Regions from separate parts of the Homo sapiens genome. Here all the other regions are linked to region 4. The links are contacts of gene promoters, found by promoter capture Hi-C in blood cells and fetal thymus (Javierre and others, 2016). All regions are on one chromosome and are shown on one strand. Each heading gives the region's core, a stretch centred on a gene start or on the middle of the fragment in contact. The rest is flanking DNA. Distances are from core to core; before and after follow the strand shown. Region 1 overlaps SETD2 (SET domain containing 2, histone lysine methyltransferase). Region 2 overlaps SETD2 (SET domain containing 2, histone lysine methyltransferase). Region 3 overlaps SETD2 (SET domain containing 2, histone lysine methyltransferase). Region 4 holds the start of PTPN23 (protein tyrosine phosphatase non-receptor type 23). Region 5 overlaps CCDC12 (coiled-coil domain containing 12). Region 6 has its middle 39 kb from the start of PTH1R. Region 7 overlaps NBEAL2 (neurobeachin like 2).

Region 1 (2,701 bases), core at 127-2,626, 340 kb after region 4:
CTTTGGGAGGCTGAGGTGGGCGGATCATGAGGTCAGGAGTTTGAAACCAGCCTGACCAACATGGTGAAACCTCACCTATACTAAAAATACAAAAATTAGCTGGGCGTGGTGACACGCACCTGTAATCCCAGCTACTCAGGAGGCTGAGGCAGGAGAATCACTTGAACCCAGGAGGCAGAGGTTGCAGTGAGCTGAGATCACGCCATTGCACTCCAGCCTGGGTCACAGAGCGAGACTCCATATCAGAATAAAAAAAAAAAAAAGTTTGTATTTCTTATTTATATGTGTACCTTTCCCATCTTTTCTAGGTTTTCTTTATCTGGTAGCTAAGAACAGACATGTATATATTTGTTCAGTTTCTATAATAACATCCTTAGCTGCTTGTGGTTCTTTTATTATGGTAGAAATCTTGAGCCTTTTAAAATAAATGAGTTCCATAGGTCAGAGGTAAGCCTATTTTTACAATAGTCTATATATATGTATATACACTGATTTATATCAAGTGTCTTTAATGTTGTTATGTTGTTGACTGAAGATTGATGTGGTGGTAAAGCAGAAGACTGTAGTGACAAGACTGACCTGCCAGATTTGTTAGATCCTTTGAGGCTTTTGACATTTTAAGTCACTGTCCTCATAACATTCTCTGTTACAGCTGGCTTCAGACTCCTGAACGTGAATATCCTTACTTCCACTTTTTATCCTACAGATCTTTTTTAAAAAAGAAAAATCTTTGCTTGCTTATTTTCAAAATGACTGTAAACATTTAAAGGGTTAACATGGCCGAAACCTTCTTTTTGCAGTCGGTCGGGAATATTTTTAGCAGAGGGTACAAGTTTTTGTTTTTTTTTTTGTTTGTTTTTTAAGACAGAGTTTCACTCTTGTTGCCCAGGCTGGAGTGCAATGGCACGATCTTGGCTCACTGCAACCTCCGCCTCCCAGGTTGAAGTTATTCTACTGACTCAGCCTCCTGAGTAGCTGGGATTACAGGCGCCCGCCACCACGACTGGCAAATTTTTTGTATTTATAGTAGAGATGGGGTTTCACCGTGTTGGCCAGGCTGGTCTCGAACTCCTGACCTCAGGTGATCCACCTGCCTCAGCCTCCCAAAGTGCTGGGAGTACAGGCATGAGCCACCATGCCTGGCCAGGGGTACAAGTTTTTAACCTGTACGTATTTTTCTTGTCAGTCATTAAACCAGAGGGGCAGAACTATTAAAAAGAAAACTCCTAAAGCAAGGGATAATTTTCTCACGTGGTCAAGGACTGTGAGAGGTGTTACATGATTTATTTTGCTCCATTTATATGCTAGGTACAGTCACTGTTTACCTCTTCATCTACAGAGGGGTGACATAGGCAGGGACCTATTTCCTGTACATTTTAGGCTTTGCCCAGTCTTATTTGCATGACATTAAGAGTCAGGTGAGAGACAGACAGGATGTTTGGGTTTACTGCTCTCTTTGACACCCAGTCAGTGTTGCCACATCATTGCCCACAGAAATACAGTCATTGAAGAGGGGCATATCTCTGTGCTAGAATCATTGCTGTTAGGAAGATAGAAAAAGTTTGTCTTTAACTCATGGAGCTGACTTATTCTATGTCTTATTGTATGTTGTATTTTATGTATGTATGAGCAGTGATGTTTATGTCAGGATTCTCTGTTTCCTAGCCCTGACAGCATGGCTGTTTTTGTCTCTTTCTAGGCAGACTCAGTGGGATCCTCCTACTTGGGAAAGCCCAGGAGATGATGCCAGCCTTGAGCATGAAGCTGAGATGGACCTGGGAACTCCAACATATGATGAAAACCCCATGAAGGTGAGTGTGGCTTACACATGTATTTCCTGATCATTTGGGAGTCCGTCCAAGACCATCCCGCATGGTCTTGGGATTCTTTTTTCTTTATTCTGAAAAATAAGTGAGTGACTATGCATGTATCAAGGTGTAGAGATGAAGTCAGGGAGAAAGAATGGCCTTTTTACATATACACCATGGAATACTATGCAGCCATAAAAAATGATGAGTTCATGTCCTTTGTAGGGACATGGATGAAACTGGAAATCATCATTCTCAGCAAACTATCGCAAGGACAAAAAACCAAACACCGCACGTTCTCACTCATAGGTGGGAATTGAACAACGAGAACACATGGACACAGGAAGGGGAACATCACACTCTGGGGACTGTTGTGGGGTGGGGGGGAGGGGGGAGGGATAGCATTAGGAGATATACCTAATGCTAAATGACGAGTTAATGGGTGCAGTACACCAACATGGCACATGTATACATATGTAACAAACCTGCACGTTGTGCACATCTACCCTAAAACTTAAAGTATAATAATAATAAAATAAAAAAATATAAAAAATAATCCCATTACAACCCTGAATCCCTTTTCAAAAAAAAAAAAAAAAAAAAAAAAAAGAATGGCCTTTTTTAGACATTGAGAGACTCAGATGCATACTAACTACTTACTCATTTGAGGGAGATATATGGCCAAGAATTGTGATGGGTGTTCAAAACACCCATTACTATGATCGCTTCAGGGCCTCTCTTGTTCTCTTTGCCTTTTTTTTTTAAATGAGACGGAGTCTCACTCTGTTGCCCGGGCTGGAGTGCAGTGGTACAATCTCGGCTCACTGTAACCTCTGCCTCCTGGGTTCAAGCAATTCTCCTGCCTTAGCCTCCCGAGTAGCTGGGACTACAGA
Region 2 (2,730 bases), core at 26-2,525, 360 kb after region 4:
AGCTGGGACTACAGGCACGCGCCACCACGCCCAGCTAATTTTTGTATTTTTAGTAGAGACGAGGTTTCACCATGTTGGCCAGGATGGTCTTGATCTCTTGACCTCGTGATCCGCCCTCCTCCGCCTCCCAAAGTGCTAGGATTACAGGCGTGAGCCACCACACCCAGCCTTACCTGCTAAATTTTTAAATGGGACTTTTTTGGAGTGGGGGGTCCTAAGGTTGTTCATGTCAATAACAAGTGCTGTCCTCAACTCAGACTCTGGTTACTTTGCCTGGCATTAGATTTGAGTAAATGTTAGCCAGTTTCTGAAATTATTTCCCATGCCATTTGCAAATCACAGACCATGAAGAGAGGGTTTCATGAATTTCAGTACTCTCAAGAGTATTCCATTTTGGTTCATGATTTCCATGATGTAAGTCTGGGGACCCCTCATTTTATCATTTCCTTTCTCGATCCCAATTGCTCAGCACTCAGGAGGACCAAGAAAGCTCCTAGACAGAGCTCAGTGGATTGTATTCTATAATTGTGTTTTTAAAGGCCACCCCCCACCAATCCCCCGCCAACCTCATCAAGTCAGGGATTAAATTATAAATCTATTAAAAGTGCTTTGGGTTCATTTAGCTTTGTGAGTGCATACCCTATCCAGAGTGAAACAGGACATTTCTATTTACATAGTACCCTCGCTGAGAGCATGGCCTCTTCTATAGGACCCAGATCTTTGAGATACCCAGACCTGAAGGGGCTTTCTGTACTCATTTCTGTTGCTGCTGACTTCTGAGAGCTACAAGAGAGTAGCTGGGGATGTGTTGAAGTTTTCTTGACTTACTCAAATAATTCTTGATCCCTTGCTACCTAAGGTCTTACTGTGGAGCATACTCATACCATCTACAACTGGGGGAAAAAAAATAACAAAATCCCAAAGCAAAACACTTGAAAATAGACTTAACTTATATTATTAGCATTATTTTTGCTTAGTTTTGTTTTCTTAAAAAACAAATTGGATCTTTATATTCTTTTTACTCTACCCCCTAATCTCCCCATACAGCTACATGAAGAAATTGGAAAAATAGAAAATACGTAAAGCTTTTATGACACAGCAGAGAAAGTTGATTTGTAACAGCCTAAAGCCAAGGGAGTGCCACCTTTCTCTGGAGCTAGTCCAGCTGCTTTAGAACCAGAGCCTTCATACTGTTTATGGAAATGGAAGAAGCAGAACCAGGAGATGGGTGGGGAGCAGGAAAATTATTCTACCCTGTGCCCCTAACAAAAAAGTGTGAAGTACCTATAATATCAACTCCAGCTTCTAGATCCATTATGAAGTAACTTATATTTGGAGGGGAATGCTCATAATTATTATTTTCCGTGGAAAAGCACATTTACTGGGAAGGGGCCTGATGGCTAGTGGTGGGCAAAGGTATGGGGAGATGGCCTGCATGACAGGTGCTCTGAATACCAAAGCTTCCAACTCATCGCCTCCTGGTGCAGTACCTAGTTAGAGGGAACTTGGAAGCCTCCCTCTAGCAGTGCTGGAAGGGAATGTTCCTGGGTTTGTCATTATCTTGCCAGCTGGGGACATAGAGTATCTTCTGTGTCATCATCTACTTATCTGTTCACTGGCTTTGATGACCTTCATCACCTCCCCGTCAATATCGTGATACTTCCTTAATCTTTCTGTTCCTAAACTGAAGGTACCAACCTCCAAGGAGCCTCTCTTGCATACTGAGACTGTCTTCTACAGTCTAGCCAACTCCACCTTTGGAGGAAAGGTGATGAGTATTCAAGAGTCTTCAGAACAGAGCATTTCGCCTCTGTCCTGGAATCCTAGAGTGTCAGAGGTGGGAGAGATGGAGCTTGTTTTGTGCCGGCCTTGCTTGATAGTTCAGGGAGCTGAACCCAGAACAGGGACATGAGTGACTCTGAAATGTGTGGCTATATCAAAGTTGTAGCTTTGACTTAGGGTAGAGAATTGGAACTTAACTTATAAGAAGGAGAGCCAAACCATGTAACAGGATTTGAAACATAATAGCCAAGTTGACTCCAGGCCTTGTACCTGAGTCAGGGCCTCTAAACGGATTCTAATACCAAGAATCAGGTATCCCTGCTAGGGGAAAGAAAGGAGGGTTCTGGGACAGTAGGGCATCACTAAACTGACTTCTCATGCCAGCACCACTGTGTTTTCTCCTCCATTTTTAGGCCTCGAAAAAGCCCAAGACAGCAGAAGCAGACACCTCCAGTGAACTAGCAAAGAAAAGCAAAGAAGTATTCAGAAAAGAGGTAAGGTTTGGTGGATATAAGCACTAAGCTCCTCAGGCTTAAATCTGAACCCTTTCATTTCTTGTCCTAAGTATGTCGAATATCTCCTTTGCCCCAAGATAGGCAGGAACACAAGGTGTTCCTTGTGTGTATGTCTTGCTGAAGTGCTTCTTTTAGCACTGAAAACTCCTCAGCCATCTTTTCTTGGCTTGACAGGAGCCCCTCTCAGACCACATTTGCTTGTTTGACTGTGGGCCTTCTGTAGCATCTATGGCAAAAGAAAGCTGTCTGTAGTGGTAGGCTGCCTTGTCTTTGGGTATTCCTCTTGCTTCTGTGATTTGACTTAGTTGTTATGTGAATGACACATTGGTGAAAGAGGTGTGGCCTTTTTCAACTGGTTAAGCACTTCAGTACCCATTGACTCATTTTGTCCCCACAACAGCCCTTGAGGTAGGCAAGACAGATTGCCTTTCCT
Region 3 (2,700 bases), core at 56-2,555, 310 kb after region 4:
CTGGGAGGCAGAGGTTGCAGTGAGCCGAGATCATGCCACTGCCCTTCAGCCTGGGTGACAGAGCAAGACCTTGTCTCAAAAAAAAAAAAAAAAAAAAAAAAAAGATGCTCAGGAAGCGTATCCTTGCCCAGTCATTTAGTATGCTGCTTTGCTAGTGAGATCGTACAAGCTTGATAGATGTAAATATATGTATTTCTGCTATATATTTTTTCTTGTTTTTAAGGGGCCAGGATATATTCTTATTTAAAGCCCAGATATAAGTCAAATTTTAGAGAATAAGTACCAGCTTGTTACTTTCCATTTCTTTATTGTCATGTGAAAACAGTCAGTTTCAAAGCAATCACCATTTCCACCCTCACTAATAACCCTCCCTCTGGTTTATTTTTTGCAGGAGGTATATCGAATTCCAAAGAAAAGTCAAACTGAAAAGGAAAACACAAGTAGGTATTCAGAGATACTCTGTGTTGATGGCTTTACAAATATTCTTTTGTTATGTGCAGAGGTAACTGATAAGAACTTAAGCGTTTTTGTTTTTGAAACTAGAGAATATATAACTAGGTAAATGAAATATTTGGTGTAAAAGTTTGGAAACTTGTGCTTTTATTCTTAATGCATTTTGCCAAAGGAAATGTCTCTTACACTGTTTTGTTGTCGCTTTCCTTGAACTCAGTCTTTACTAGCTTTTTTTCTATTCGTTTGTCCTCTAGAGCAGACATTCTTTATTTTTTTTATTTAGTCTTTTTTTCTTTTATTATTGTGATTTTGATTTTTTTTTTCCTTCGCACCAGATAGAGCAGACATTCTTAAACCTATACTTCTAGATGTCTTTGGGAGGGTCTTTACCTCAAGATATTTATATGCAGCTGGGCAGGGTGGCTCACACCTGTAATCCTAGCACTTTGGGAAGTTGAAGCAGGTGGATTGCTTGAGCCCAAGAGTTTGAGACCAGCCTGGGAAACATGGTGAAACCCTGTCTCTACAAAAAATACAAAAATATTAGCTAAGTGTGGTGGTGTGTGCCTATAATCCTAATTACCAGGAGGCTGAGGTAGGAGGATCACCTGAGCCTAGGAGATTGAGGCTGCAGTGAGCCATGATCGTGCCACTGTACTCCAGCCTGAGCAACAAAGTGAGGCCCTGTCTCTAAAAGGAAAAAAGATGTTTACATGTAAAATTCTGTATGTACACAGTTGACCCTTGAACAACATAGGAGATACAGATACCCTGTGCGTCGAAATTCCACATAACTTTTGACTCCTCATATTATGTATGTTATGTGTATTATGTAACTGTATTCTTAAAATAAAGTAAGCTAGATAAAAATGTTATTAAGAAAATCATAAGAGAAAATATATTTACTCTTCATTAAGTGGAAATAGATCATCATAGAGGTCTTCATCCTTATCTTCACCTTGAGCAGACTGACGAGGAAGAAGAGGGATTAGTCTTGCTGTCTTGGGTGGCACAGTTAGAAGAAAATCCACATATAAGTGGACTTTCATCCAGTTCAAACTCATGTTGTTCAAGGGTTGACTGTATTTACTTTTCTGAGGCAAGTTCAAAACTTTGATCAGATTCTCAGTCACCCCTGAAAAAGTTAGAATCATTGTTTCAGAATGGATAGCAGGGAGGCCATGGGAATCTGGTTTCTGGACTTTACCACTTAGTTACATTTCCAACAAACTTATTTATTGATTTATTTTTTAGAGACAGTGTCTTATTCTGTCATGCAGGCTGAGCACAGTGACACCATCATAGCTCTCACTGCAGCCTTGAACTCCTGGGCTCAGGCAATCCTCTTGCCTCAGCCTCTTGAGTAGCTGAGACTATAGGTGTGTGCCACCATGCCTGGTTATTTATTTATTTATTTATTTTTTGTAGAGACAGAGTCTCGCTATGTTACCCAGGCTAGGCTTGAACTCTTGTCCTTAAGTGCTCCTGTTTCCACCTCCCAAAGTGCTGGGATCACAGATGTAAGCCACTATGCCCAGCCTTAAGAATTTCCTTCCTTTCTTCCAGCACACTTACTTAGAGATTCAAGGAATAGGGTCACTTATGGTGGTTATTGGTTTCATGAGTACCTCCACCACTGACCCACTAAAAGTAGAATGAAGAAGCCAGTGTGATTTTTTTTTTTTGTCTTTTTATTTTTGGTGTGCATAACTTTTTATATAATCTTAGTCTTATTGGTTAAAGACCTGTGAGATAACCTTTGCACCATTGTTTGTCTTTCGAATATTTTTAGTTCCACTCTCTGGTTTAGTCTCTTCATAGCCTCACATTCTACTTAGGGCTGCAAATAACTCTTCCTATAAAAAAGAAGGCAGGACTGGGCAATAGTGGTTGGCAAAACCAGTGGCACCACTATAGGGTTGATTATCAGAAGCTAGCTTTCTGGGATCACTGAGTTAAAACTATTAGTAGCACACAAGCAAAGCTTAAATACCTATGAGCGTTTCTCCATAATATTTTGTAAATATCTAGTCTGGTGTGGCTAGATATTTGCAAATTATTGTGGAGAAATATTTTGCATCCATGAGATGCAGAGGATGATCTGTAATGAACAACTATATCTTTTCAGGGAGTAGCCTCTTTTCTGCCGACCTTAGTCTCTCTTTCACATGTAGAACCCTTCATCTCAGTCTCAGGTTTCTAAAATAAGAAAATGCTTATAATATATAATGCTTATAATTATTTTAT
Region 4 (2,700 bases), core at 64-2,563:
AAAAAAAAAAGGTAGGAAAAAGAAACAGCAGATGAAGAAGAGAGCAACGTCTGGATAACCGTTAACAAAATTCTAGAATTTTGGATCAATTACCCTCATTTCCTGGCCCCAAGAGGCTAGATGATGGACTCAAACACTGTCTGAACTAAGGCAATGGTGTATGGCGATTAGAGGGGAGACAGCTTCTTGGGAAACTACTTCCAAACCCATTTTCTTTTTCCTATTTGTCTTCCCAAGCGTCTCGCTAAGTGGTGCACCATCTAGATTGGGGCTTACTCTGGCATCTGCTGTGCTAAGCCCACAAGGCCCCCCACCTGCGACGGCCTCCTGGTTGTTCCTTTTCATTTCTGCTCTAGCCCTCAGTGCTACCAATACAGCGGATGTCTCGGAGGGCACCTGTGTTCAATCACCACACCTGAACCTCTCCACAGAAGTTCCTTGCCTTAGTCAACGCCAAACCTGCCCGTCTGTTCTTCCAACACAGTAAGATTTCTCTGAGCTCTACAACACTGTTTATGCCCTCCAGTCGGTTACGAAAAGCAGTAACCCTCCTAAAAATGTCGTGGGATTGTATTGTTTGGTCCAAAGAGACTCCCGAATGGGAGACCATACAGAATCGCAGCAATTGTAAAACAAACCCTCACCGCAGGGGTCGGGCATCTCCCTGGGCCACCGGGGCTCACGTCTTAAACACACGCCCCTGAGCCATCCCCAGTGTCTGTCCCAGGCGGGCGTGGACTTGACAGCGCACCGAGGGCCGGGCGCAGCAAAAGAATCCGCACGGTCAGGGCCGCCCACCGCTCCCGCGCGGGGCGGTCCTGGCATGGAGGAGGGGCGGGGCAGAACTGGGTCCGAGCGTCAGAAGGAGGAAGTGTGCTGCCTCAGTGGGAACAGCGGATGACTCGGGGCAGAAGTCGGGAACCGGGTTCAGATGAAGATGCAGGTGCTAGCACGGGGCTATCGGGGAGGAGAAGAATGGCCTGCGGGCGCCGGGGTGTGGGACAGGCTGAGGAAAACCGGCGAAGGCCCCTCCTGGCCTCACCGGACCCTGCGACCGGGCCTGAGGAGGTGATGGGCGCGCAGGGGGGCGTCACGCGCTTGCAGACGACGGAGATACGCGGCGGATAGGGGGGAAGATGGAAGGCAAGCTCACCTTCTTCACAGCTGGCTGGAAGTGAAAGTCACCGGCCTCCTTCAGGTCCAGCCAGATCATGGGCATGCGGGGCACGGCCTCCATGGCGGCTGGCACCCGCCGGCCACCCGGCCACTCCCGTAGCTGCTGCAGCTGCTGGCTCAGCCACGAGCCCAGCCCCGCCCCTTCGTGCCGGAAGTCACTGGTCACGGGAGGGAATGAAAAATGCCAGCGGCCTGCCGGGAGTTGCAGTGAACCCAGCCACCCGCTCGCGTAGTCTTTTGCGCAGGCGCTGTCCCTGTTGCGCATGCTCAGTCTTCTTCGCGCGGAGGGAGTAGGGCGGGGAGGAGCTCGCCAGCCCGAGGCGAAACGGCTTCTGGGATAGTAGTCTTCATCCACTAAACTGAGAGGCGCGGAGCGAGCTTATTCCCCGCTCCCGGGCCAAGCCCAGCTGCGGGTCCCGCCCGCCGCGCTCCTCCCTCCTAGGAAGAGCATGAGACCTCACCTATGAACTTGCCCTCCCACGTATTGTCAAGAGCCGTGGAGGACTGGTGCTGTGGTAGAGATGACGTGGCGGGCGGGCCGCTGGAAAGAGATGACGCGAAAACGGGCCTTAGAGAGGGTGCGGAGGGAGCACCTGGCCTGAAGGAGTCGGGGCTGAGAGCTGGGGGTTTCAGTCCCAGTGCTGCGAAGGCTTTCGAGCTTTGGAACAGAATCACTGACCGGAGACTGGCCTACTCAGCCCAGCCTGGGAGGCCGGGCAGTGCCCAAGGGAGACGGACGATAGGGAGGGAGCGCCTGGATGGAGGGTCTCAAGCGGAGTGAGGAGGCCCCGGGCCCTGTGGGGAAGTGGGTGGGGGAAGGTATACGGCCAGGTGAGCACCCAGGGACGCCCACAGTATCTGGAAGGAGACCACGGAATGGAGAGCACCTGTTGCCTCTGGAGAGGGGACCTATAGAGCAGGAATTGTTAAATCATATGGCTGTATCACCTACTTTTAGAAATAAATAATAGGCTACTCGGGAGGCTGAGGCTGGAGGTTCAATCGCTTGACCTGGGAGGCGGAGATTGCGGTGAGCCTAGATCTTGCCACTGCTCTCCAGCCTGAGCGACAGAGCGAGACTCCGTCTCAAAATAATAATAGTAACAATAGAAATAACAGAGAATGGCCTGGAGATAGTGAGTGCAAAAGTGCGAGCTGGGAGATCAGTGAGCCTTTTGTAGTCTTCCAGGAGACAGGTGATTGTGGCTTGGAGCAGAGGGAAGTAAAAAGTGAGCAAAGAAATATTTTGCCCACTTTGAGAAATATTTGAGGAATATTTTGGAGACAAAAGTATCAGAACTTGGAATGGATGGATGTAAGGGCATGAGGACGTCGAATATGATTTCCAAGCTTCTGGCTTGTGCAGGTGGGTGGCTGTGGGGCTGTTTACTGATAAGGGAAAACAAGGGAAGAGCAAAGGTTCAGGTCCGTGTTAAGCTCGAGGTCAAGGCCTTTGACTCGTTCTGGATGAAATGTGGAGACCACGATGCCGGGTGCGGTGGTTCACGCTTGTAATCCCATCAC
Region 5 (2,700 bases), core at 7-2,506, 440 kb after region 4:
CCATGAGATGAGCTGCCCTGAGTTGGGGTGGGGGGCATGTTGATCTGTTCTCATGACAGAAGCCTTTCTCTGGGCCAGGCCTCCGACCTGGTTTTGGTAGTCTGCTCCCCGGAGGTTGTGTGGCCAAGGAATGGCAGGGTCTGGTTGATGCCTGCAGTCTCCACATAAAGCAGATACCATTCTTAGGAAGGCAGTTGTCAATGGCATAAATAAATGTCTAGGAAAGGTAGTTCAAGTAGCTGTTTTACTTATAATTTATATGCAGGCTCCAGCGCATTCTGTGTCCACCAGAGCAGGCTCCCAATGGAAGGAGCTCACAGATCTCTCTTAGAACACTGCTCTGCGAGAGTCAAAGGCAGGACGCTGCCATAGTGAAGTGAGCATTGTCACCTTCTGGAGTGCCAACCCTGGCATGCAGGGAGACCCACGACAGCTCTGTCTTGGGGCCTCTCAGTCCATGCCCTGGGCCCCAGGTGTGGTCACACGAATTTGTGCATGTGCACACACGCCCTGCGTCAGTTTGTCCACAGGCAGGCTGACCTAACAGAGGTAATCACATAATAAAGGATAAAGTCCAGGAAGACATTTTCTGCTTCAGGTGGAAGCAGTATGGCAGTTTCCTTCTGTTGTGGCCCCCAGTGCACCTGAGAACAAGCATAACATGTCAAGGTTGAGATGAACATGACTCTGTAGACTTCAAAAAGAGGTGCAGTTGGTGGGAAGTCAAAAGAACCAGATTAAGAAAATTTTCATGGAAACTTCAGACTAATTCCCCTTGCCTCTGTCTCCCTGAATATAGCATAGGCCTAGGCAGTGAATCTTGTTGCAAGCCTGGTCCTAGTTCATGTTACTTCTAAAGCGAATCAAATAGGTATTTCTGGAGAGGACTCTGGCCTGAAAGGTGTCTCAGGAGGCCTGAGCTCTCATCCTGCCCTGGTTGCTGGTAACTTCTTTCCCCAGTCTTTCCTAGCTTAGCAGGTGGTTCTGTCTAGACCCATGAAGGTGACTGCTGGCCTGCCAGCATGGCCCCTCCATGGCACCAAGTGGCTGCATTTCTCACCACCTAAAGCCATCCAGCTCTTTCTGTGAGTGTTCTCTAAGGGCTACCAGGTACCTGGGACTGGGCTGGAGTTACGGACTTTTTTTGTTGCTTTTTTTTTTTTTTGAGATGGAGTCTCGCTCTGTCGCCCAGGCTGGAGTGCAGTGGCTTGATCTCGGCTCACTGCAAGCTCTGCCTCCCAGGTTCACGCCATTCTCCTGCCTCAGCCTCCCGAATAGCTGGGACTACAGGCGCCCACTACCACGCCCAGCTAATTTTTTTGTGTGTTTTTAGTAGAGATGGGGTTTCGCCGTGTTAGCCAGGATGGTTGCGATCTCCTGACCTCGAGATCCGCCCACCTCGGCCTCCTGAAGTGCTGGGATTACAGGCATGAGCCACCGCGCCCAGCCAAGAGTTATGGATTTTTAAATTCTGCACAGGCAATGAGGCTCCAGTTGTGCCTATGAGATGCAGCAGGCGTGTACCCTGTTGGAGTCTGGGACACCAAGCTGGGCCCTGCCAGGTGCCCCCCTTCTGAGATGTCCTGTTCTTTAGCTCCCTGGGCCACGTGGACTGGAAGTAGGAGCTTTCAACTGAGCTGGTGGTTTTCTCCCTTTCTTTGCAGGACAAGGAAGATGGGGAGCCAAAGACCAAGCATCTCAGAGAAGAGGAGGAAGAAGGCGAGAAGCACAGGTAATGCCCGTGTGCAGCTCCAGGGTCTGCTCTCTCCTCCAGCACTCATCGGTCTCCCAGTCTCTGGGTCCTCCCAACTCTGTTCAGTGTCTGCCCTGTTCCCTCCCCTCTTCTTTCTGCCCATGGCTGTCCTGTTCAGACCTTAAAATCTCAACATCTCAGAAGGCCCTTGTCGAGGCCTTCTCTGCCTCCTTTCCCTCATTTTCCATTTGGCTGTTACTCAGCCCCCAGCATTTTCTTTCTAGCCCTTACATTATGCCTTTTTACCCTTCTCATACACCTTTTGTGGCGTGGTTCTCCATTGCCTACTGAGTAAGTGCCCCTTCTGCACTTGGCATGTGAAGCTCTGCCTGGACCATCTAGCCTCATCCAACCTCCTCTGGTTTCCCTCTAGCCAGAGCCCTTTGTGGTCGGCCCTTGCCACCTCTGGCCACTCAGCATTTCCTGACCAGTCTTTTGTCCGTCCTCTCAGCCTGGAGGTCCTTCTCATCTCTCCTATACCTTTGATGTCTGGGTCTTCACATAGAGTTCAGCTCAAAGGGCGCCTTTCTCGTTGTCTGTGTCCCTCTGGCTTCATTTCCCTCTGTAGTATTTATCTTATTTTGTCGAATACTCTCATCTGGTTGGGTCCACTTAAGTTGCCTAAACACAGCACACGTGAGGGTCTTGGGTACACTTCCCTCGTGATTGCAGGCACAAGGTCTTCCCCCGCAGTCTTGAGGGCTGCAACCTCCACAGAGCCTCAGATGCTGCTTTGCCTCCCAAAAATCTGGAGCCTGGAAACTGTTGCCGGAACCAGTGTGTGGGGTGAGCGAGGCAAAGCTGTGCTGCTGATCTTTGTGAGCAGAGTGTCTGACTACCACTCCCGTGTCAGCAGTTCCAGAGGTCTCATGTCCTCCCTCCCATGCCTAGCCCTGAGATGGGGCTCTCTTCCTGGGGCCAGACTGTGTGTCTTTCTGGACAGGTTG
Region 6 (2,700 bases), core at 179-2,678, 460 kb after region 4:
TGGGAAGCTAGATCTGAAGTTTTCCAAAATGCAGCCCAGCAAGATAAACAGTGATAATGTAAAGCAAGTGGCTGAGAGACATGGAGAGTAGAATGAAGAGATCCAACGTAAAGTGACGGAGTTCCAGGTGGGAAAAAAAAAAAATGAAAATGAGGCAGAAGCAATATTTAAAAACTGGCTGAGAACTTTCCAGAAAAAATCACCAATTCACAGATTCAAGAAGACCAGTAAGTCTCAGGCAGGTTAATAGGAAGAACTATACATCCAAATGTTCTGTTTCTTCATCTGGGTGATGATTAGGTATTTTTACTTTATGAATATTCATTGAACTGTATACATGTTTTATGCCCTTTTTGTATGTTTATTCTAAGTAAGCAAATTTACTTAAAAAAATTCTACACTTTTTATTAATCATCAGTTGCTACACATAAATTACCCAAAACTCGGGGGCTTAAAATAACAAACACTTATTACCTCAGTTTCTGTGGGCCAGGAATCAGGAGTGGCTTAGCTGGGTAAGTCTAGCTTGGGGTCAGTTGTGAAGCTGCACTCATCTGAAGGCTGGACTGGGGCTGGAGGATCTGTTTCCAAGATGACTCATGGGGCTGTTGATTGGTGGCCCCTGTGTCTTGCCACATGGACCTCTCCATCGGCCTGTGTGTTCTCAAGACATGGCAGGTGGCTTTCCCAGAGTGGCAGTCTAAGAAAGAAGGCAGGAGGGAGCGTTGTGGGGCTTTCTTATGATCTGGGCTTGGAAGTGATATTCTGCTACATTCTGTTTGTTAGAAGCAAGTCACTACGCCCAGTCGACACTTAGAAGAATTAGCTTCCACTTCCTGAAGGGAGGACTGTGTAAGAATTTGTGGACTTATTTAAAAACTACCACATACCTAATCACATTGTAATAACATTAAAGAGCACAAAGACCAAGAAAATACCTTAAAATCAGAGAGAAAGGACATACTACCTTTTGAGGAGCAACATAGCAGCAGATATCTCAGCTATAACCAGTGTAAACAGGAATGAAAGAAAGTTGTCATCCTAGAATTGCATACTCAGGGAAAATATGAGACGTGTTTTTTGTTTTTTTGCAGAGATGGGGTCTCACTATTTTGCCCAGGCTGATCTTGAACTCCTGAACTCAAGTGATCTGCCCACCTTGGCCTCCCAAAGTGCTGGGATTACAGGCCTGAGCCACCGCACCTGGCCTAAGATGTTTTTAGACCAACGAAGTCAGGGATTCTGTCACCAGCAGACTCTCACTAAATGAAAATCTATTTTGGGGTAATGAAAATGTTCTAAAAGTGATTGTGGTTGCACAAATCTGTGAATATGCTGAATATGCCAAGAGCCATTGAATTGTACACTTTAATGGGTGGGCTGTATATGTATAAAGTTGTTTTTTAAAAATGAAATAAGCATTCTCCTTTTAAAAAAATCATAAAGGATATTTTCAGACTGAGGGGCACAATCCCAGATGGAAAGTCCAGAGAAAGGAAGTATAAATGTAAATAAGCACTGACCTTGTAAAACAAAAATGTGTTGTGGGGTAAAGCAGGGGCTATTTAGAATACATAACAACAATGGTATGTAAGTTCAGAGGTAGGAGGTGGTTGGGGTTACAGTCCTTGAAGACGCTCACTTAGGAAGAGGGATAAGACTAGGAAACAGGCCTCTTGACATTTCTGGGGTAACCTGAAAAGAGTAGAAACAGAGTGTACCACTTTCAGAGGAGATGAGAGAGGAAAAAAAAAAAAAAAAACCAGAATGGGAAAAAAGTAACTATCCAAAAGAAAGCAGAGAGAAAAGGTGGATTGAGTAGTTGAATCCAGATATATCAGTAATAGCAAGGTATTAGACTGCTTTTCTTTCTTTTTTTTTTTCCTTTAAACTCAGTTTGCTGAGTTTAAAAAAACCTGAAGCCGACTGGGTGCAGTGGCTCATGCCTGTAATCCCAGCACTTGAGAAGGCTGAATTTGCTCGAGTCTCAGGCAGATTGCTTGAGCCCAGGAGTTCAAGACCAGTCTGGGCAAAATGGTGAAACTCCGTCTTCTACAAAAATAAAAAATAAAAAAATTAGCCAGGCGGGGTGGTGCCTGCCTGTAGTCGCAGCTACTTGGGAGGCTGAGGTGGGAGATCATGTGAGCCTGGGAGTTCTGAGCGACAGAGTGAGACCCTGCCTCATAAATTAATAGAAACAAAGATTAATGGGACTAGAAAAGCTCTATCAAGCACAGGATCAACAAAAGAAAGTGGAGGTGGCAGGAGTGAGGCCAGGCAAGGGAGACTTTCAGAAGTGTCATTAGCTACACCACTGTACTGTGGAGCAGTGGGACCTCTCACCCACAGCCATAAGAGTGTGAAATGTGTAACCACGTTGGGAAAGTTGAACATGTGCACGCTGGGACCCATCAGTTGCGCTCTTAGTGCACTAGAAAACTTGCACATGTACACCAGGAGACAGGGACAGAAATGCTTGTAGAAGCATTGTTTGTAATAGCACGGGCACATGTGTGCACACACACACTAAATCAAAGCCAGAATGTGGTAATAATAAGTTGTCATTCTGAAAGTGTGATGTTCCATAGCTGTGAGAAGAGCTACAGTCATGTGCAACAAATGGATAGATGTTGAAAGAAGCAAGTCACGGAAGAAATAGAGTATGAGCCATTTGTGTGACGTTCCAAACAGGCGGAGTGA
Region 7 (2,700 bases), core at 2-2,501, 380 kb after region 4:
GACTCCCAGAGATGGGGAGGGGCTGCCTAGGGTCCAGAACCTACTGGTCCCAGCCCCTGTCCCCCACCTGCCACCCACTGGGCTTCTGAATATTTTGCCAGGATGCCAACCCTTGTCCCCTGCTCCCCTCACCCAGCCCCTGCCCACTCCCTGGGCCCCCTTCCTGCTCTGGTTTGTGTTTCTCAGTGCTGTCCTCAGGTGCCTGGCTGTTAAAAGAGCAACTCTCAGCCCTGTTAGGAGACTCTCCCACTCACCATCTGGCTTTGGACAGTCCCTTCAGGGGGACGTAGTCGGGCAGCAGAAGAGGACACACTCAGGGAGTTGATCCCACAGAGGCATGCACACACTGGAGCAGACCCCTTGCCCACCACACCAGTCCAATCTCTCCAGGGCCCCACTCACGGGGTCTCCAGCTCAGCCAGCTCGTCCTCGCCGAGCTGGTCCTCCTGCAGCAACTCGGGTGGGGTGCTCACTTTGGCCTCTTTGGTCACTGCCAGAGGCAGTGAGGCCTCCTCGGTGGGTGTCAGGGGAACCTCACCTGCAAGGGGCCAAGGGTACTCAGCAGAAGCAAGGCAGGACAGGAGACGGGACAATCGAGTTGGGTGGACCCATCTCAGCACACTCCCTCACCCAGATTGTCTCGGAGAGCGCTGGCTTCCAGGTGAGGGTCGAAGTGATGGTTGGGCACCAGCTTCAGACGCATGCGTGAATATGTCTCGGCGCTGGACAGTTTCCAGCGGGGGATGGGAGTGTCCCTGCAGAATGTCCCCCAGGTCATGGGTCGGTAGAAGGCTGTAGACACCCCCATCCCTCCCTGGCCTCACCCCAAAGGCAGTCTGGGGCTCCAGGTGGCTCCCTCCCTCCCAAGCCCCACCCCTCCACAGCGACCCTGCCCCAAGCCCGGCCCACCTCAGCGCCCAGGCCCCACATGGGCTGGCGAGCTGGCGCCACAGCGCCCCCCAGTGCAGCAGGGCCATGGAGTGCTGCGTTGCCTGCTGCTTCAGCACTGCCGTGTAGCGTAGCCCCTCCAGGCGCGCCCGCCTCTGCGCAGGTTCCAGCACCAGCTCCTGGGGTGGGGGTAATAGGTCAGTCCCCTGGCTGCTGCCTGCCCTACCCGTTTCTCCACATTGTCAGTCATCTCCTGGGTGCATGTGTGGAGCAGTTTCCCATCCCTTACCCCGGGTGGCACACCTGGAAGGCCCGACGACTCTGGGCGCGCTCCCACTGGCGCCGCTGCCCACTGCTCATAAGCATGTCATAGCAGGCATTCCAGAAACCTGACATAAGGTCGTGGCTCTTAGCATACGTGTCCATTTCGAACTGGGACATGGTTGGCTGTACCTGGAGGATTGGGCAGAGGAGAACAGTGCTCGATGTGGGCCCCAGCCCCCACTCCTCTTCCTGGGCCCCAACCTCCAGGCACCTGTTTGTCGATGAAGTGGCGCCATTCGGGTGTGGCACAAAAAGCCTGGAAGTCTTCAAAGAAGGTGGGGCTGCCATTGGTGGGTGGCAGGGAGGGCAGTCCCCACTGCAGCCCCAGCGGCTCATAGGCACGGTCTAGCAGCGTGCGCACCAGTGGCACCAGCCAGGAGCAGCGCTCTGCAGCTGCTGCAGCTGCTGCAGCTGCAAGTGGGGACCCTGCCTCATCAGTGGCTGACTCCAAGGAAGAGGTGTTCAGCACCCGCCCCAGTGCAGCCTCCAGCTTGGAGAGCACATAGCAGGCCTCCTCGCGGCGGGCTGGCACTGCAGTCTGTAGCAGCATGTGCAATCTCACGTAGGCCTGGGCATGCAGCTGTGGGCGCAAGAGAGATGAGTGGCACCCAGCCACTCTTGGAGCTCCCGACATCTCACACGCCCCCTGCCCCCATGCTCACCCTGTGCTCACCTGTGGGTCTTCCAGCAGGATGTAGCCAAGTACAAGCCGTAGGCCAATCTGCGCCATCTCACGGAGATCAGCTGTGCCGTTGGCCAGGTGGGGCCAGGCTCCCAGGCGATCAAGTAGGCTGCATACACCTTCAAAGAGCTGCCACAGAAAACAGGTTCCCAACAGACATCACCAGGGGAGGCCAGGAGTCCATGGAAAGGGAGCAAAGTAAAGTTTGCGCTGGGGGCCAGGTAGGGTTTGTGCACACAGGCAAGTCCACACTCACAGGCATTCATGCTGATGCACCCACACCTGCGCACGTGTACCCATCCACCTCCCAGACCAGATCCCTGCAGGCTTGCATGAACATGAGTGTTCATGTGGCTCACGCCTCTCTGAGGGGTCGCACCTTCTCACTCCACAGTTCCTGGTTACCATGGCCTTCAGCACACAGGAAGTCCTGCAGCAGACGCAGCAGCCAAAGCGCTTGCTGGGTGAGGCTGGCCAGGACCCCCACGGGGGCCTCTTTGATGTCGGTCAGGGCTGACTCCAGCATCATCTCCAGGAGGCTGGCGGGTGAGTGGGGAACTCAAGGGTCTACCTGACTATCTTCTCTCCTTCCCCCGAGGCTTCCTGAAGCCCCTCCCCCTCCAGACTTTCCCTCTCACCTGCGCTTGATGCAGTCTGGTGGGCGCACAAGTGTGGCTGAGGCCCCCAGCTGGGTGAGCACTGAGAAAACCTGGCCACGCTCCCGCCAGGCAGCCTCATCGCTGCCTTCCACGCCACGCCACGTCACCGAGAACAGCACGTTGGTGAGCAGATTGCACAACTCTTCC

What was found. The method cuts DNA at HindIII sites, captures the fragments that hold promoters and counts their contacts. A CHiCAGO score of 5 or more calls a contact.
Region 1: a fragment that was not itself captured here is called in contact with the fragment with the promoter of PTPN23 in region 4 in 2 of 17 cell types (megakaryocytes and neutrophils); the score reaches 6.3 in megakaryocytes.
Region 2: a contact is called between a fragment that was not itself captured here and the fragment with the promoter of PTPN23 in region 4, in 1 of 17 cell types (endothelial precursors). The highest score is 5.6, in endothelial precursors.
Region 3: a contact is called between a fragment that was not itself captured here and the fragment with the promoter of PTPN23 in region 4, in 1 of 17 cell types (megakaryocytes). The highest score is 5.8, in megakaryocytes.
Region 5: a fragment that was not itself captured here is called in contact with the fragment with the promoter of PTPN23 in region 4 in 2 of 17 cell types (neutrophils and erythroblasts); the score reaches 7.2 in neutrophils.
Region 6: a contact is called between a fragment that was not itself captured here and the fragment with the promoter of PTPN23 in region 4, in 2 of 17 cell types (neutrophils and endothelial precursors). The highest score is 6.3, in neutrophils.
Region 7: a contact is called between a fragment that was not itself captured here and the fragment with the promoter of PTPN23 in region 4, in 1 of 17 cell types (neutrophils). The highest score is 5.6, in neutrophils.

Annotation. Positions count from the first base shown.
Region 1 is chr3:47,036,776-47,039,476 of GRCh38, reverse strand. SETD2 (SET domain containing 2, histone lysine methyltransferase) reads left to right here. Exons shown (of 21, transcript NM_014159.7): 18 at 1,700-1,811. Among named protein-coding and RNA genes, the nearest start is that of NBEAL2, 58 kb to the right of the region's middle. The HindIII fragment of the contact is 4,494 bases long and covers 1-2,701 here.
Region 2 is chr3:47,019,306-47,022,035 of GRCh38, reverse strand. It overlaps SETD2 (SET domain containing 2, histone lysine methyltransferase), which reads left to right. Exons shown (of 21, transcript NM_014159.7): 19 at 2,196-2,276. Among named protein-coding and RNA genes, the nearest start is that of NBEAL2, 41 kb to the right of the region's middle. RefSeq lists a silencer at 2,542-2,621. The HindIII fragment of the contact is 375 bases long and covers 1,088-1,462 here.
Region 3 is chr3:47,064,810-47,067,509 of GRCh38, reverse strand. It overlaps SETD2 (SET domain containing 2, histone lysine methyltransferase), which reads left to right. Exons shown (of 21, transcript NM_014159.7): 13 at 392-440. Among named protein-coding and RNA genes, the nearest start is that of NBEAL2, 86 kb to the right of the region's middle. RefSeq lists an enhancer at 1-93. The HindIII fragment of the contact is 2,268 bases long and covers 172-2,439 here.
Region 4 is chr3:47,379,634-47,382,333 of GRCh38, reverse strand. PTPN23 (protein tyrosine phosphatase non-receptor type 23) reads right to left here and starts at 1,313. Exons shown (of 25, transcript NM_015466.4): 1 at 1,154-1,313. The coding sequence starts at 1,237. PTPN23-DT (PTPN23 divergent transcript) reads left to right here and starts at 842. Exons shown (of 1, transcript NR_185912.1): 1 at 842-2,700. RefSeq lists enhancers at 574-1,249, 1,291-1,510, 1,681-1,740, 1,250-1,927. The HindIII fragment of the contact is 8,365 bases long and covers 1-2,528 here.
Region 5 is chr3:46,940,030-46,942,729 of GRCh38, reverse strand. It overlaps CCDC12 (coiled-coil domain containing 12), which reads left to right. Exons shown (of 7, transcript NM_001277074.2): 2 at 1,665-1,732. Among named protein-coding and RNA genes, the nearest start is that of CCDC12, 35 kb to the left of the region's middle. RefSeq lists enhancers at 1,932-2,431, 2,432-2,700. The HindIII fragment of the contact is 9,713 bases long and covers 1-2,700 here.
Region 6 is chr3:46,915,349-46,918,048 of GRCh38, reverse strand. No RefSeq gene overlaps it. Among named protein-coding and RNA genes, the nearest start is that of PTH1R, 39 kb to the right of the region's middle. The HindIII fragment of the contact is 4,758 bases long and covers 1-2,700 here.
Region 7 is chr3:47,001,012-47,003,711 of GRCh38, reverse strand. NBEAL2 (neurobeachin like 2) reads right to left here. Exons shown (of 54, transcript NM_015175.3): 28 at 2,533-2,700; 29 at 2,274-2,433; 30 at 1,886-2,023; 31 at 1,424-1,792; 32 at 1,192-1,341; 33 at 910-1,067; 34 at 631-755; 35 at 403-538. Among named protein-coding and RNA genes, the nearest start is that of NBEAL2, 23 kb to the right of the region's middle. The HindIII fragment of the contact is 5,454 bases long and covers 1-2,700 here.